2 separate regions of the Homo sapiens genome follow, and region 2 is linked to region 1. The links are contacts of gene promoters, found by promoter capture Hi-C in blood cells and fetal thymus (Javierre and others, 2016). All regions are on one chromosome and are shown on one strand. Each heading gives the region's core, a stretch centred on a gene start or on the middle of the fragment in contact. The rest is flanking DNA. Distances are from core to core; before and after follow the strand shown.

Evidence for each region. Contacts are between HindIII fragments. The CHiCAGO score rates a contact against its expected background, and 5 or more counts as called.
Region 2: a contact is called between a fragment that was not itself captured here and the fragment with the promoter of TTLL1-AS1 in region 1, in 1 of 17 cell types (neutrophils). The highest score is 5.6, in neutrophils.

What each region holds. Positions count from the first base shown.
Region 1 is chr22:43,034,771-43,042,423 of GRCh38, forward strand. TTLL1-AS1 (TTLL1 antisense RNA 1) reads left to right here and starts at 3,815. Exons shown (of 3, transcript NR_125362.1): 1 at 3,815-5,494; 2 at 6,441-6,531. TTLL1 (TTL family tubulin polyglutamylase complex subunit L1) reads right to left here. Exons shown (of 11, transcript NM_012263.5): 11 at 4,746-5,135. The coding sequence ends at 5,006. The HindIII fragment of the contact is 751 bases long and covers 3,161-3,911 here.
Region 2 is chr22:42,762,960-42,769,360 of GRCh38, forward strand. No RefSeq gene overlaps it. Among named protein-coding and RNA genes, the nearest start is that of A4GALT, 45 kb to the left of the region's middle. The HindIII fragment of the contact is 7,000 bases long and covers 1,575-6,401 here.

The DNA.
Region 1 (7,653 bases), core at 2,565-5,064:
TGGGAGGTTGAGGCATGAGAATGACTTGAACCCAGGAGGCAAAGGTTGCTGTGAGCCGAGATTGTGCCACTAGCCTGGGCAACAGAGTGAGACTCTGTCTAAAAAAAAAAAAAAAAAAAAAAAAAAAGGAAAGAAAGGGGGGAGGGGAGGGGGGAGGGGAGGGGTGGGAAGGGGAGGGGAGATTAGGTGAGTTAAACTGGAATTGTGGGGGAATGTTGGCCAAGTGGCAGGCAGGGTGGGCCTGGGCCTGAGGGAACGCCATGGGCCCCTAGACTTGTTCCTGCTGACAGAGCGCCAGCGGCCGGGCAGGAGCATAAGCAAGGTGGGTTTGCATCTGTCACTGGAGGAGCGCTCCGAATGCTTCTCAGGACAAAAGCAGGAGGCCGCCATTGTTCACAGGATGTGAGATCTAATATGGTTCAGGCTGGGGCAAATCAGTGAAGATCAAAATCCCTCGTCTTCCACAATGAGAGACTGGAATCAAAAGTGGATGTGCTCCCACCTGCTCACAAAGGGTCCTCACGTGCCCCAGGGCCCTCCACTGGGGCACAGTTCACATTAGGGGACACACAAACAGCCTGAGGGTGCCCAGTCGCTGAGCAGCCCCAGTCGCTGTGCCGTTACCAGCAGGCAGGGCCCTGCAGGAGACCTTGGCCTCCCCAGACCACAGGGGCTGCAGGGCTGCTGCGGGGAGAGGGCCAGGCGGCCGCAGCACAGCTGGGAATGGCTCCAGAGGGGAGGGTGGAGAGTGCGCTGGCCCCTGGGGGCACTCAGAGAGGAGCTGCGTGTGTTTGGCACTGGTGGACATGGTGTGTGGCAGTGTGAGCCAACAGGCCAATGGGTGGCAAGCATAGGAGGCTTTATGGAGCACCCTGAAGAACCACTGTGTGGAGGGGAAATGGCCCCCTGTGAGGAAAGTCCTAGCAGCTGGTGGAGCGCAACCAGATGCGGGTCCAGACTGATGGGGTCTCCATGGCAGCCCAGGTGGGAGGCGGAGGAGGAGAAGGGAGACAGTGAGAAGGTTGTCACCAGGCCCTCACTAATACCCGGGGAGCAGCCCGTGTGCAAAGGAGGTGAAGGATGGTGGTTTTCTTTTGTTTGAGATGGAGTCTTGCTCAGTTGTCCAGGCTGGAGTGCAATGGTGCGATCTCGGCTCACTGCAACCTCCGCCTCCTGGGTTCAAGTGATTCTTCCGCCTCAGCCTCCCAAGTAGGTGGGATTACAGGCATGAACCACCAAGCCCAGCTAATGTTTGTATTTTTAGTAGAGACGGGGTTTCACCTTGTTGGCCAGGCTGGTCTCAAACTCCTGACCTCAGGTGATCCACCCACCTCAGCCTCCCAAAGTGCTGGGACTACAGGCGTGAGCTACTGTGCCCAGTCGAGGATGGGTTTATATTGGGAAAACCAAGCCTATCAAACTTGGTGAAAACGACCACAGGATGCAACCCTCTGGCCTGGGACCCACCCCATCAAGTGTGTGGGGGCTGACAAGAAAACAGCAACGGCTCCCGGACAGCTCCCAGCAGGGCTCACTGCTTAGCCCCAGCCTAGCGCTGAATGGGGCTGTTCCTGGCCCGACAGCCTCCCGAGGCCTGCTGCCAACACCGCACCCTTCCCACCCGTGTCCTGGAAGTGCTCAGAGGAAACATCTGCCCAGAACATGACATCACTAAATCATTAATGAGACAGTCACTATATGACATAAATCCACTTAGCAGAGCCTCACTCTCACCTAGCAACTGGGTCACCAGCAAACTAACCACTTGGTGTGACTCTTCCATTAGGACTGCGTGGCCCCGGAGCCTCAGAGGCCAACGTTCCCAACCAGGGACTCCACCCTTCTCCCAGAGGGAGGCAAAAACAACACAATGTAACTGAGAACCGGGTTGTAAAAACCGGTGGAAGAGCTGGGAACAGTTAACGGGGTGTCTTTCACTTCTGCGTGTAGGAGCCGAGGTGGAGCCGCCAGCTGTGCAGAGGACACCCCCTCCTGGGAGGTAAGAGGGCTCGCCAGAGCCAGCAAGGCGTGCGGGCAGGGTCCCTGTGCGGTGGTACTGGTTGTTTCTGAGGCAAACAGAACTCCCCCCCTTTTTTTTTTTGAGACGGAGTTTCGCTCTTATTGCCCAGGCTTGAGTGTAATGGCGCCATCTCGGCTCTCCGCAACCTCCGCCTCCTGGGTTCAAGCGATTCTCCTGCCTCAGCCTCCAGGCTAATTTTTGTATTTTTAGTAGAGATGAGGTTTCACCATGTTGGCCAAGCTGGTCTCGAACTCCTGACCTCAGATGATCCACCCTCCTCGGCCTCCCAAAGTGCTGGGATTACAGGCATGAGCCACTGCGCCCGGCCACAGAACTCCCCATTTTATACAGTGGGAAACAAAGGTGCAACGACCCCAGGGACAGGCTTGGGAAACAGCTAATAAACAGCAGAGCCAGGCCACAAGGCCAAGTCTGACTCGGGGATCTCCATCCCACACCCGCCATCAACAGCAAACACATTAAAACTAAACCCCACGGCTGGGCGCAGTGGCTCACACCTGTATTCCCAGCACTCTGGAAGGCTGAGGCAGGCGGATCACCTAAGGCTGGGAGTTTGAGACCAGCCTAGCCAACATGGTGAAGCCCCATCTCTACTAAAAATACAAAAATTAGCCGGGCATGGTGGTGTACACCTGTAATCCCAGCTACTTGGGAAGCTGAGGCACGAGAATCACTTCAACCCGGGAGGCAGAGATTGCAGTGAGCTGAGGTTGCGCCACTGCACTCCAGCCTGCTGGGCGACAGAGCGAGACTCTGTCTCAAAAACAAAACAAAACAAAACAAAACTTAAACACCAGGGAACACACACAACACACATACCAATAAGATCACGAAGAAGGAATGGCTGAAAAGCCCACCAATTGTAGTTTATTTGGAGTCCAGCCAAGTACCATTTGTGTTGAAAAGACCTATTTTTCCCTAATTGGCAGTGAAACATCATTAAATATATGTACTCATATACACACACACAATATGGCATGTACACTTGACACACGTCCATGCATGGGCACTGAGAGAGCCTGGGCAAGTCAGTTAAGACCCTTATCTGAAGGACATACCCTTGGTGCCATTTGGGAGAACAAACTCCTGTTACTAGCATTGCAACAAAAACAGGTGGCAAGCTTTAAAGATAAACTCAAGACAGCGAGTGAAACTTCAGCAAATACGTGTTAATACGACCATGAGTAAAAGGCCCTTCCTGGCCGGGCGCAGTGGCTCACGCCTGTAATTTCAGCACTTTGGGAGGCGGAGGCGGGAGGATCACCTGAGGTCAGGAGTTCGAGACCAGCCTGGCCAACATGGTGAAACCCCGTCTCCACTAAAAATACAAAAATTAGTTGGGCGTGGTGGCAGGCGCCTGTAAGCCCACCTCTTTGGGAGGCTGAGCCATGAGAATCGCCTGAACCCAGGAGGTGGAGGTTGCAGTGAGCCTAGATTGTGCCATTGCACTCCAGCCTGGGTGTCAAGAGTGAAACTCCACCTCAAAAAAAAAAAAAAAAAAAAAGACCCTTCCTAAGAACAGCACTGTAACTCATGAGTTATTACTCAAATGCATCTGTCCATCTACCCACCAACTCAGGTCCTCTCCATACACTCCTGTAAGTCACCGGGCTACCGGGAGACTGCATGGGAACAACCACGCTCGCGCAGCCTGTCCCGCAGCCATCGCTCCTCCCACAGCTCCTGGCTGCCCACGGCGCTTCCCTGTAGCAAACCCAGCTGCTGACGTCATAAAAGGCACACAGCCGGACCTGTCTGTGCTCATCTAGTTCCATTTACAACAGACTCATCCACAAAACCGAAGTGGTAGAAACAGGTCTTTTTGAAGCCAGGCGTGGTGGCTCATGCCTGTAATCCCAACACTTTGGGAAGCTTAGGCAGGAGTATCGCTTGAGCCCAGGAGTTCGAGAACAGCCTGGCCAACATGGTGAAACTCTGTCTCTACAAAAAAAACTTTAAAAAGTAGCTGGGGGTGGTGGTGTGTGCCTGTGTGGTCCCAGTTACTCGGGAGGCTGAGGTGAGCGGATCACTTGAGCCCAGGAAGTTGAGCCACAATGGCACCACGGCACTCCAGCCTGGGTGACAGGGCGAGATCCTGTCTGAAAAGAAAAAAAAAAAGAAAAGAGAAGAAAAGAAAAGAAAACAGGTCTTCCTGGGAGCACCTAGACAAAGGCCTTTGTAAAGATAAATTACCGAGGAATATTTCTAGTTGCCTGTTTTCTTCAAAATCACAGTCAAGTAAGCTGGGCGTGGTGGCTCACCTCTGTAATCCCAGCATTTTGGGAGGCCGAGGTGGGCAGATCACCTGAGGTCAGGAGTTTGAGACCAGCCTGCCCAACATGGTCAAAACCCCATCTCTACTAAAAATACAAAAATTAGCCAGGTGTGGTGGCACACGCCTGTAATCCCAGCTACTTGGGAGCCTGAGGTGGGAGAAATACTACCCAGGAGGCAGAGGTTGCAGTGAGCCAAGATTGTGCCAGTGCACTCCAGCCTGGGCGACAGAGCAAAACTCTGTCTCGGGAAAAAAAAAAAAAATCGCAGTCAAGTAAAAAGAAACGCAACTAAAAGAGCCGTCAGTTAAATACATTCCTCTCTCGTGGCAGGACGAGTCTATAAGATTTGTTTTGTTTTTAATTTAGTGTAAAGTTTTTTTAATGTTTAAACCTTGTGACACATCAAATTACATGCTTGAAGCTGTTACTTTCTGTCAAAAAAGTGAGTTTTTAATATGAAAATTCTGCTTAGGTTAAAAATTAAAAAAAAAAGAGCGAGTTTTATACATCCGCATGAATTGTTTCCTTTAGCACTAGTCAAACAGACTCCATAACCTTCCAAAGAAGTGCCTTCGTTTATTTACAGGGCTTAGGAAAGGAAAAAAGCTCTACAAAAGGGAAATTTCAAAATAGGGCTTCAGCAGGGGCCCAGGTGGAGTGAGTAGTTTTGATAAGGTCCAGGTGGGACTCACTTCCAGGTGGTGAGGACCGCTCTCCCCGAGTCTCTCGATCGGCCTGCTCTGGGCCCCAGAGACTGACCCTGACGGCTTCTCAGCTCCCGGTCAGCCCCGTCACCCTGGGCCAATTCTTCATCATACCTGGAGACAGAAACAGCCAGGATCACGGCAGGCTCTCTTTCAAAGGCAACAGGCAGGGCCACCAGGCTGCTGTGTGGCAAATATGACATCACCCAGAGAAGCGGCCTGAGGGGGCCCCACCCTCGCGACTCCTGCTGGCTCCCGCCCACCTCCCACCTGGCTCCAGCCCACCTGCCTGCCAGGTGGCTCTCGCAGCCCAGCAAATGCTCCCCAAGGCCAGCCTGCCTATGTGTACAACCTTGTTGTTATTGTGGACAGTGGTCTCCCCTCGGAAGCTGACATTTTATACAGGTCACCAGGTCAAATATGGCAATGACTCCAAAGGCAACATGCATGAGGTGACACAGAACCAGCCCAGGGTAAGTGAGGTGAGACTGCCTGGCTGGAAACGCTTCACACAAGGCACCTGCAGGCTGGGGGGACTAACTCCATTCCAGATGGGAGTGGTACATGAGCACTGGTCAGTGGAGGCCAGGGCAGAGAGGCCCCACGGTGCACACTCAGCTAGAGACTCTGCCAGTGTGACCCACGCCACCCCTCCCCATTTTCTTTTTTTTTGAGATGGAGTTTCACTCTATCACCAAGGCTGGTATACAGTGGCGCAATCTTGGCTCACTACAACCTCCACCTCCCTGGTTCAAGCGATTCTCCTGCCTCAGCCTTTCAGGTAGCTGGGATCATAGGTGCCCACCACCACACCCAGCAAATTTTTGTATTTTTAGTAGAGACAGGGTTTCCCCATGTTGGCCAGGCTGGTCTCGAACTCCTGACCTCAGGTGATCTGCCCATTCGGCCTCCCAAAGTGCTGGGATGACAGGCGTGGGCCACCGTGCCTGGCCCCCATTTTCTTTAACTGCCTGTTTCCCAATTAACGTTCATGCATCCTAAGGCCGCGTGTGCTAAGGAGGCAGCAGTGTAGGAAACAGCCTGAATTTTCGTGTCTGGAAGAGCTGGATGCCAGCTGCAGCTCCCCAGACGGGGTGGTCACAGCATCTGGGCAAGTCCTGGGTCCTTCCCACAGTGGCGGGGCCCTTCTCTCACGGGGTCCTGGAGCATGGTCGTTGCTGCCTGCACCTATTGCAGGCTGTGGCAGGGAGCAGGCTGGGGGAATGGGGCCGCCCCCCTCCACGGTGACTGACATTATCCTCCCAACTCGGGCGGCAGCACCAGGACTTGCTTCCTATGGGGGGAAACTGGGGTTCTAGAGGTTTGCTCAGGGCCTAGGGTCCCACAGCTGGCCTGTGGCACAGGTAAGATTAACCTCTAGGACTTCTGATTTCTAATTCGGAGTTTTTTGTCCCATAGCGCTGAGGAGTGTGGAAAGCATCTTTCCCCAGTTAAAGCACATCCGTCGGTGTGCTGCGCTGGCCATCCTGACTAGGACCCTCGGTTGTATGTAGGTATTTGTGTCAAACACAAAAGGTACCCAGATGCTGAGTGCTAATCATGTGGACTTCTGGAAAAGGGTGGATTTCTGTGATAAGCTTATTACCAAAACCAGAGTTTGCAGGTTGAATGTAGTATGAGTTAGAAACTTCTGAGGTTAAAGAATGTATTTTCTGCATTGTGCTTCTGGTGGCAAACTGGGACTGAAAGAGTAGGTGGGAAGAAAGCATTTTCTGATTCCTTTTTTTTTTTTTAAACGGTCACCCAGACTGGAGTGTAGTGGCCCGATCTTGGCTCACTGCAACCTCTGCCTCCTGGGTTCAAGAGATTCTCATGCCTCAGCCTCCCAAGTAGCTGGCATTACAGGCGCATGCCACCACGCCCGGCTAACTTTTTGTATTTTTGGTAGAGATGGGGTTTCACCATGTTGCCCAGACTGGCCTCGAACCCCTGAGCTCAAGCAATCTTCCTGCCTCGGTCTCCCAAAGTGCTGGGATTACAGGTGTGAGCCACTGCGCCTGGCCGCATTTTCTGACTTCTGTCTGTGAAGCAGACACCACAGGGATCCAGGCTCTGCACCAGGGTGGAGCTGTCAGGATGATGATACAGGGGCCTGCTTCCTCTCTGGCTCTCGAAGGAGAGACACAGCCATAGTCCCTATGACACAAGGAAGCCGGACAGGACACCCCTGGAACTCTGGAATCTGCCTGGGTGGGGGGGGTCCTCCAGGAAGCCTCCCTGGCGCCTCTCCACAGGATCAGATACCCCTACCCCGTGGGGACTCCACATTCATAAATGTCGTCACTCCACTGCCCCCGTGTTTGCTTCCCTGGCCAGGGGGCTGCAGTGACCGCCCGTCTGGTTCGTGGCTGCCCCCAGCAGCTTGCTCAAGGTCTGGTGGATAGGAATCTACTGAATGAATGGAGAAAAGGACCACATATGGTGACCGGTTTCACGGAGCACTTGTGCTGATCTGTGTGGCTCAAAAAACAAAACAAACAGAAAGGAGCATTTGGCAAGCAGCTGGCACCGGGATGCGCTGTTCCCAGGGGTGGTCTGGCCACCTACCGAGCCAACGCAGAGGAGAATCAGAGCCAAGATGGCTCTTCGAAGTTCCTGTTCTAGCAGGCTT
Region 2 (6,401 bases), core at 3,825-6,324, 270 kb before region 1:
ATAATTTTTAGTCAACCACGCTAGTGGAAAGGCTGAATTATTGTTCTATTCTCTCAGTGGAAAATGATATTACAAAACTTGTTGTCTTTTCAAAAGATGATCAGAGAGTATTTAGGGGAGAAACGTAAAGTACAAAATACTGACTGGGCACAGTGGCTCACACCTGTAATCACAGCACTTTGGGAGGCCGAGGTGGGTGGATCGCCTGAGGTCAGGAGTTCGAGACCAGCCCGGCCAACACGGTGAAATCCCGTCTCTACTAAAAATACAAAAATTAGCTGGGCGTGGTGGCGGCTACGTACTTGGGAGGCTGAGGCAGGAGAATTGCTTGAACCTGGGAGGCGGAGGTTGCAGTGAGCCGAGATGACACCACTGTACTCCAGCCTGGTGACAGACCGAGACTCTGTCTCAAAAAACACAAACGCAACGTACTTCAGGGGTGCATCAGGCAGTTCTCTAAGAGAAATATTATGTTAATTTATTGGATCTTATTATGCTTATGCTGCTTATTGGCTTTTTACATTTTTTGCAGTTGTGATTTATTTACTTTTTTAAAACTAGAGATAGGGTCTCATACTGTGGCCCAGGCTGGTCTTGAGCTCCTGGGCTCAAGTGATCCTCCCACCTCAGATTCCCAAAGTGCTGGGATTACAGTTGTGAGCCACTGTGCGTGGCCAATTAACTTTTCTCTTTTTTTTCTTTTTTTTTGAGATGGAGTCTCACTCTGTCACCCAGGCTAGAGTGCAGTGGTACGATCTTGGCTCACTGCAACCTCTGCCTCCTGGGTTCAAGTGATTCTCCTGCCTCCTGAGTAGCTGGGATTACAGGCGCCTGCCACCGCACCCGGCTAATTTTTGTATTTTTAGTAGAGAGAGGGTTTCGCCATGTTGTCCAGTCTGGTCTCATACTCCCAACCTCGGGTGATCTGCCCGTCTCGGCCTCCCAAAGTGCTGGGATTACAGGCGTGAGCCTCCGTGCCTGGCCCTATTTACTCTTAATATTCACTTTTATGCCTAATTTTATAATCATAGTTTCCTATTTTTCTCCACAAAGAGGCCCTGAGAATGCCACCCATCGTCTCCAGCGGTGTCTCATCTGGAGGTGGCCCTGCAGGCTGGGGCTGGCTTCCCTGGGCAATGAAGAGCGTGCTAGGCCCTCAGGGTCACGTGGGCTCCCTTGCCACCTCATTGGCAGTCACTGGAAGAGTTTGCGTTGGTTCAGAGCCCAGGGCCTGATTCAATCCACGATGCAGTTGGGTACTGCCCATGAGCTGAAAAACCCCATCAACCCTCTGACCCGGGCCCGGCCAGCCTCACTGGTGTGGAACCCGTCCCCCACCCCCACACCTGGCTGCAGGACTCACTCCCTACACCCCAGAGACACAGGGCGGGTGGGGAGGTGGGAGTGGGCCCCGAGTCACTCTGCCTGCTCCCAGCTCCGCCACCTTCCAGTGCTTGACCTTAGGCACTTCCCTGTACCTCGGTTTCCCCATTTATGAAAGCAGGGAATAATGTACCTGTCCCACAGAGCAGCTGTGAGGATGGACTGGACCAGTGATGGCTGGTGCTCTGTAAAGCTTGGTAAATACATAGGGGTGCCTGGGAGCTGCTCTTATTACCTACTCTGCAAAGAGATGGGACTTTTTGGAAGGTTTTGTGGACAGATGTGGGGAGGACCGTGTTCCACCCACCGACCCACCGCCCCATGGGCCAGCTTCTCCATCGGCACCTGCCTCTCTCTCCAGAGCTCTCCTCTTGAATTTCTTTCTCTGTTCAGTCTCCTCTTCCCCTTGCACCTTCTCACTCATCTTCCTTCTGAAGGCAGAGAACGGCTCTGGCACCTCCCACTCTCTGATGCTCCCACCCAAGCCCCCAGGGGCCTCTGATCACTCATGGGATGACCCCAAACTCCTCTCCTGCACTTCATCCCCGACGCCCATATAACCTGGCCAGGCTGACTCAGCCCCCAGAACAAGTTTCCCCACAAAAGCTGGGGACCTGGGCTCCTTTTGACCCCAGATAAGCCCTATCTTCTCCAGCTTCAGTTTCGGTTCATGAAACATGGAGGGAGGCACTCAGATCCCCCCCAGTCCACAGGAAAGGGCAGGAAGAGGTTCTGACACGGAGGTGGGAGGTGAACCCCAGGGACGCGGATCAGAGCTGACAGGCTGGGGCTTTCCAGGGTGGCCGCATCACACCCCAAACACAACCACCCAAACAGTGCGTCATCCAGGTCCCCTGAAGAGCTCAGTTCTGGTTGGAGACTCCAAGAAACAGCGGCCCCTGGCCCGAGCCCATGCCCCAGCCCCCGGCCTGGGAGAAGAGCAGGGAGTCGCACAGAGGCCGCATGGCTTCTGGATTGGTCAAGGCAGAGCCTGGGTGGGCAAGGAGGTCATCCTTGTGTGGCCGCGAGCTGGCCCCTTCATAGCTGGGAGCCCCGTTATCCACGTGCCTCAGGTCCTGAGTCTCTGCTCCAATGTTGCCTCATCAGAGAGGCCCTTCTCTGACCCTTTATAAAGTGCCATCTCTCTCATGCCTTCATCTTTCTTCCTGTCGTCCGCAGGAAGACAAGCAATGATCCAGAGTCTTGAAGCAGTGTGCCGCGGAAGGTGGCGTATCCGTGGGACCGACTGCTGGGCATGGGGCGTCCCAGCCAGCAGAGAGGCAGCACCGGCCCCACTGCCGTCCCTCCTCTCCACCCCTGAGTTCCCACTGTACCAGGAGTGGGCTTGCTGTTCTCTGGCTCCTGCATCCCTGTGGTGGAATTTCCTCCCTTCCCCCTGGAGGGAGGGGCTCCCTCACCCTACCCACACCCCAGGTGGAGCTCAGGGATCCTTCCCTGTGTCCCCTACAAGGCCAGCCCCTCCCAGTGGGACTCGTGTGGGGTCTCCTCCCACCCCATTCTGTCAACCATGTGTGTGACTTGAGGATGCAAGTGGTTTATGCATCTGTTATAAAAACAGTCCCCGCCCCTCTCTGCCCATTGTGCGTCCACAAGGCTCCCATGCCCTTGTGTTTATTTTCCCAGCATTTATGTTTCAGGTCAGTCTTTTCATGTCTGCCTTTTTATGCTTAAATAATGTGCTTAGGAGGCCAGACATGGTGACTCACACCTGTCATCCCAGCACTTTGGGAGACCGAGGTGCGTGGATCACTTGAGGTCAGGAGTTCGAGACCAGCCTGGCCAACATGGTGAAACCCCGTCTCTACTAAAAATACAAAAATTAGCCAGACACAGGGGGGAATGCTTGTAATCCCAGCTACTTGGGAGGCTGAGGTGGGAGTATCACTTGAGCCAGGGAGGCAGAGGTTGCAGTGAGCTGAGATGGCGCCACTGCACTCCAGCCTGGGCAACAGAGTGAGACTCCGTCTCAAAAAATAAATAAAAAATGCCAGGCGTGGTGGTCAGGAGTTCGAGACCAGCCTGGCCAACGTGGTGAAACCCCCTCTCTACCAAAAATACAAAAATTAGCTGGGCATGGTGGCACACACCTGTAATCCCAGCAACTTGGGAGGCTGAGGCATGAGAATAGCTTGAACCCAGGATGCAGAGTTTGCAGTGGGCTGAGATCGAGCCACTGCACTCCAGCCTGGGTGACAGAGCAAGACTCTATCTCAAAAATAAATAAATAAATAAAAATAAATAAAAAATAATGTACTTAGGCCGGGCATGGGGGCTCATGTCTATCATCCCAGTACTTTAGGGGGCTGAGGCGGGAGGATCTGTTGAGCCCAGGAGTTGGAGACCACTGTGGGCAACACAGCAAGACCCCATCTCTACCCAAAATAATTATACTGTGCTTAGCTGGACACTTCTCAGGTTCTCAGTGTTGCACAGGGTCTCCTGATTCTCCACCCTGGAAGTGAAGGATTTAATTCCCTCTCACACATAGAACCCCCCAACTGTCCCCACCCCCAACATAATTTTGGTGAGACAGACATTCAGTGTCTACGTTACTATGCGGGTGCAGCTCACGCTGAGCCGTGCAGCAGGCTGGGGTTCCTCATTTTCCCTGGAGTGCATCTGGTTCCCAGGCCACTTGTGCCCCAGTTTCTTCCTGGGGCTGTGACTTCACCTCTGCACTCTCCTTCCGCTATGTAAGCCGCCTCTCCACGTGTTCAGACACATTGGAACAGTTTCCTCCCAGAGCCTCCTGACCATCCCCTGTGGCCTGGTGCCTGGCCTCTGTCATCTGGCACCCACTCTCTCCTATCAGTTGGCTCCTGCTGCCTGGACCCCATCTTCCTCTATGTGGCTGCCCCTCGTTTTGCTCATGCCCACCCTCCAAGACTTCTTTTTTTTTTAAATATATATAATGGGGACGGGGTGCGGTAGCCCATGCCTGCAATTCCAGCACTTTGGGAGGCCGAGGCGGGCGGATCACCTGAGGTCAGGAGTTCGAGACCAGCCTGGCCAACATGGAGAAACCCCGTCTCTACTAAAAATACAAAAATTAGCCGGTTGTGGTGGTAGACGCCTGTAATTCCAGCTACTCAGGAGGCTGAGACAGGAGAATCGCTTGAACCCAGGAGGCAGAGGTTGCGGTGAGCCGAGATCGTGCCATTGCACTCCAGCCTGGGAGACAGAGAGAGACTCTGTCTCAAAAAAAAAAAATATATATATATATATATATATATATATATATATTTTTTTTTTTTTTTTTTTTTTTTAATTATTTTTTTTTTGCCCACGGCACAGTTCCAAGAGATCTCGGGAACATGTTTCCCTCCATGGCCTTCTTTTTAATTAATTAATTTATTTATTTATTTTGAGACAGAGTCTTGCTGTCACCCAGGCTAGAGTGCAGTGGTGAGATCTCGGCTCACTGCAACCTCCACCTCCCAGGTTCAAGCAATTCTCCTGCCTCAGCCTCCTGAATAGCTGGGACTACAGGGGTGCACCACCACGCCTAGCTAATTTTTTCACATTTTTAGTGGAGACAGGGTTTCACCATGTTGGCCAGGCTGGTCTTGAACTCCTGACCTCAAGTGATCTGCCCACCTCAGCCTCCCAAAGTGCTGGGATCATAGGCATGAGCTACTGTGCCCAGCCATCTACTTCTATTTAAGAAAGGGGCAGCAAACAGTGGCTTAGACACCCTGTGCCACGTGCAGGATTCATCCATGTGGGACTCACATAAGAGGACCAGCTGGACGGTTTTCCTGGGCGAACTGCTGATGTCACTATCTTTGGGTCTTTTCTCTTGAGTTGCTTGGACTTTGGAAAAGGATGTTACAAGGCCGTACAGAGGGCAGCTGAGGGGGCCAACCAGGTCTGGTGGAAGGCGAAGTGGCCCCCAAAGATGTCCCAGTCCTGATCCCTGGTAGCTGGGAAGATGTTGTTACAAGACAAAAGGAAATTTGCAGGTGTAATTAAGGTTACGAACCTTAAAATAGGGAGGGAAATTATCCTAGACATGGCTGGGATAGTGGGTCTGGTCCAGTCCCATGAGCTGTAAGAGCAGAAAAGGACTTTCTCTGGCTGGAAGCAGAAGAGAGACCAGGCCGAATGGGAAGCCAGAGAGTTTCCAAGTGTGAGGACTGGACATGCCGCTGCCGGCTCCGAGACGGGGGCCCACGGGCAAGGACAGAGACAGGCCTCTACTTGCTAAGGCTGGGCCCTGGCTGACAGCCAGCCAGGGAACAGGGACTTCAGTCCTATAGCCACAGAAACCAGATCCCACCAACCACCTGCGCGGACTCAGAAGGCAACTCACTTGCAGAGCCTCCGGAAGGGACACCCACCCAGCAGGCACTGGGCCCCCTCCAGCCACCCTCAGGCATGCGGGGCTGCAGCCAGAGAGGGGCACAGGGTCGGGCTTGGGCCTGTCAGACCCTCCCCTCCACAGTCTGAGTGACCTGGCCAGTGGCAGGATGGAGGCCTGAGAGGTGGCGCCGTTCACGGAACTGGGAGGGCCATGGGACCGGCTGGGGCGCTGGCTGACGGTGACGGGCGTGTGTGTGAGAACCTGAATGGATGAGGGTGGGTGGGTGGGTGGTGGGGTGGAGGCAGCTCCCTCCCCGTTTACTGGGGTGTGACTTGAGCACCTCGCAAGCACAGGCAGTGCCTCAGCCGCTTACTCTGTGAGGGGCCGACCGTGCCCACCTGCAGGCCCACTGTGTGCCGGGCACCCTGAGCCCCGCGTTTCCAGTGGCTCCAACTCTCCCACAGGTGACCCGGTGGATGCTGCTCTCCTCTGTGTGAGGGAGGAAGCGAGGGGACTGTCATGGCCCACGAGCCTGTTCGCCTCCACAAGCGGCTCCCAACCCCAGGCTCCTTCCAGCAAACCCTTGGAAAGGTCATAGAGCCTGGATGCCCCAGGCCTTGAGGGGCAGAGGGTGGGGGGCAGCAGGGTGGACAGGCGCCCCTTGGGCCATTCTGAAGGGTTCAGGGCTTCACCT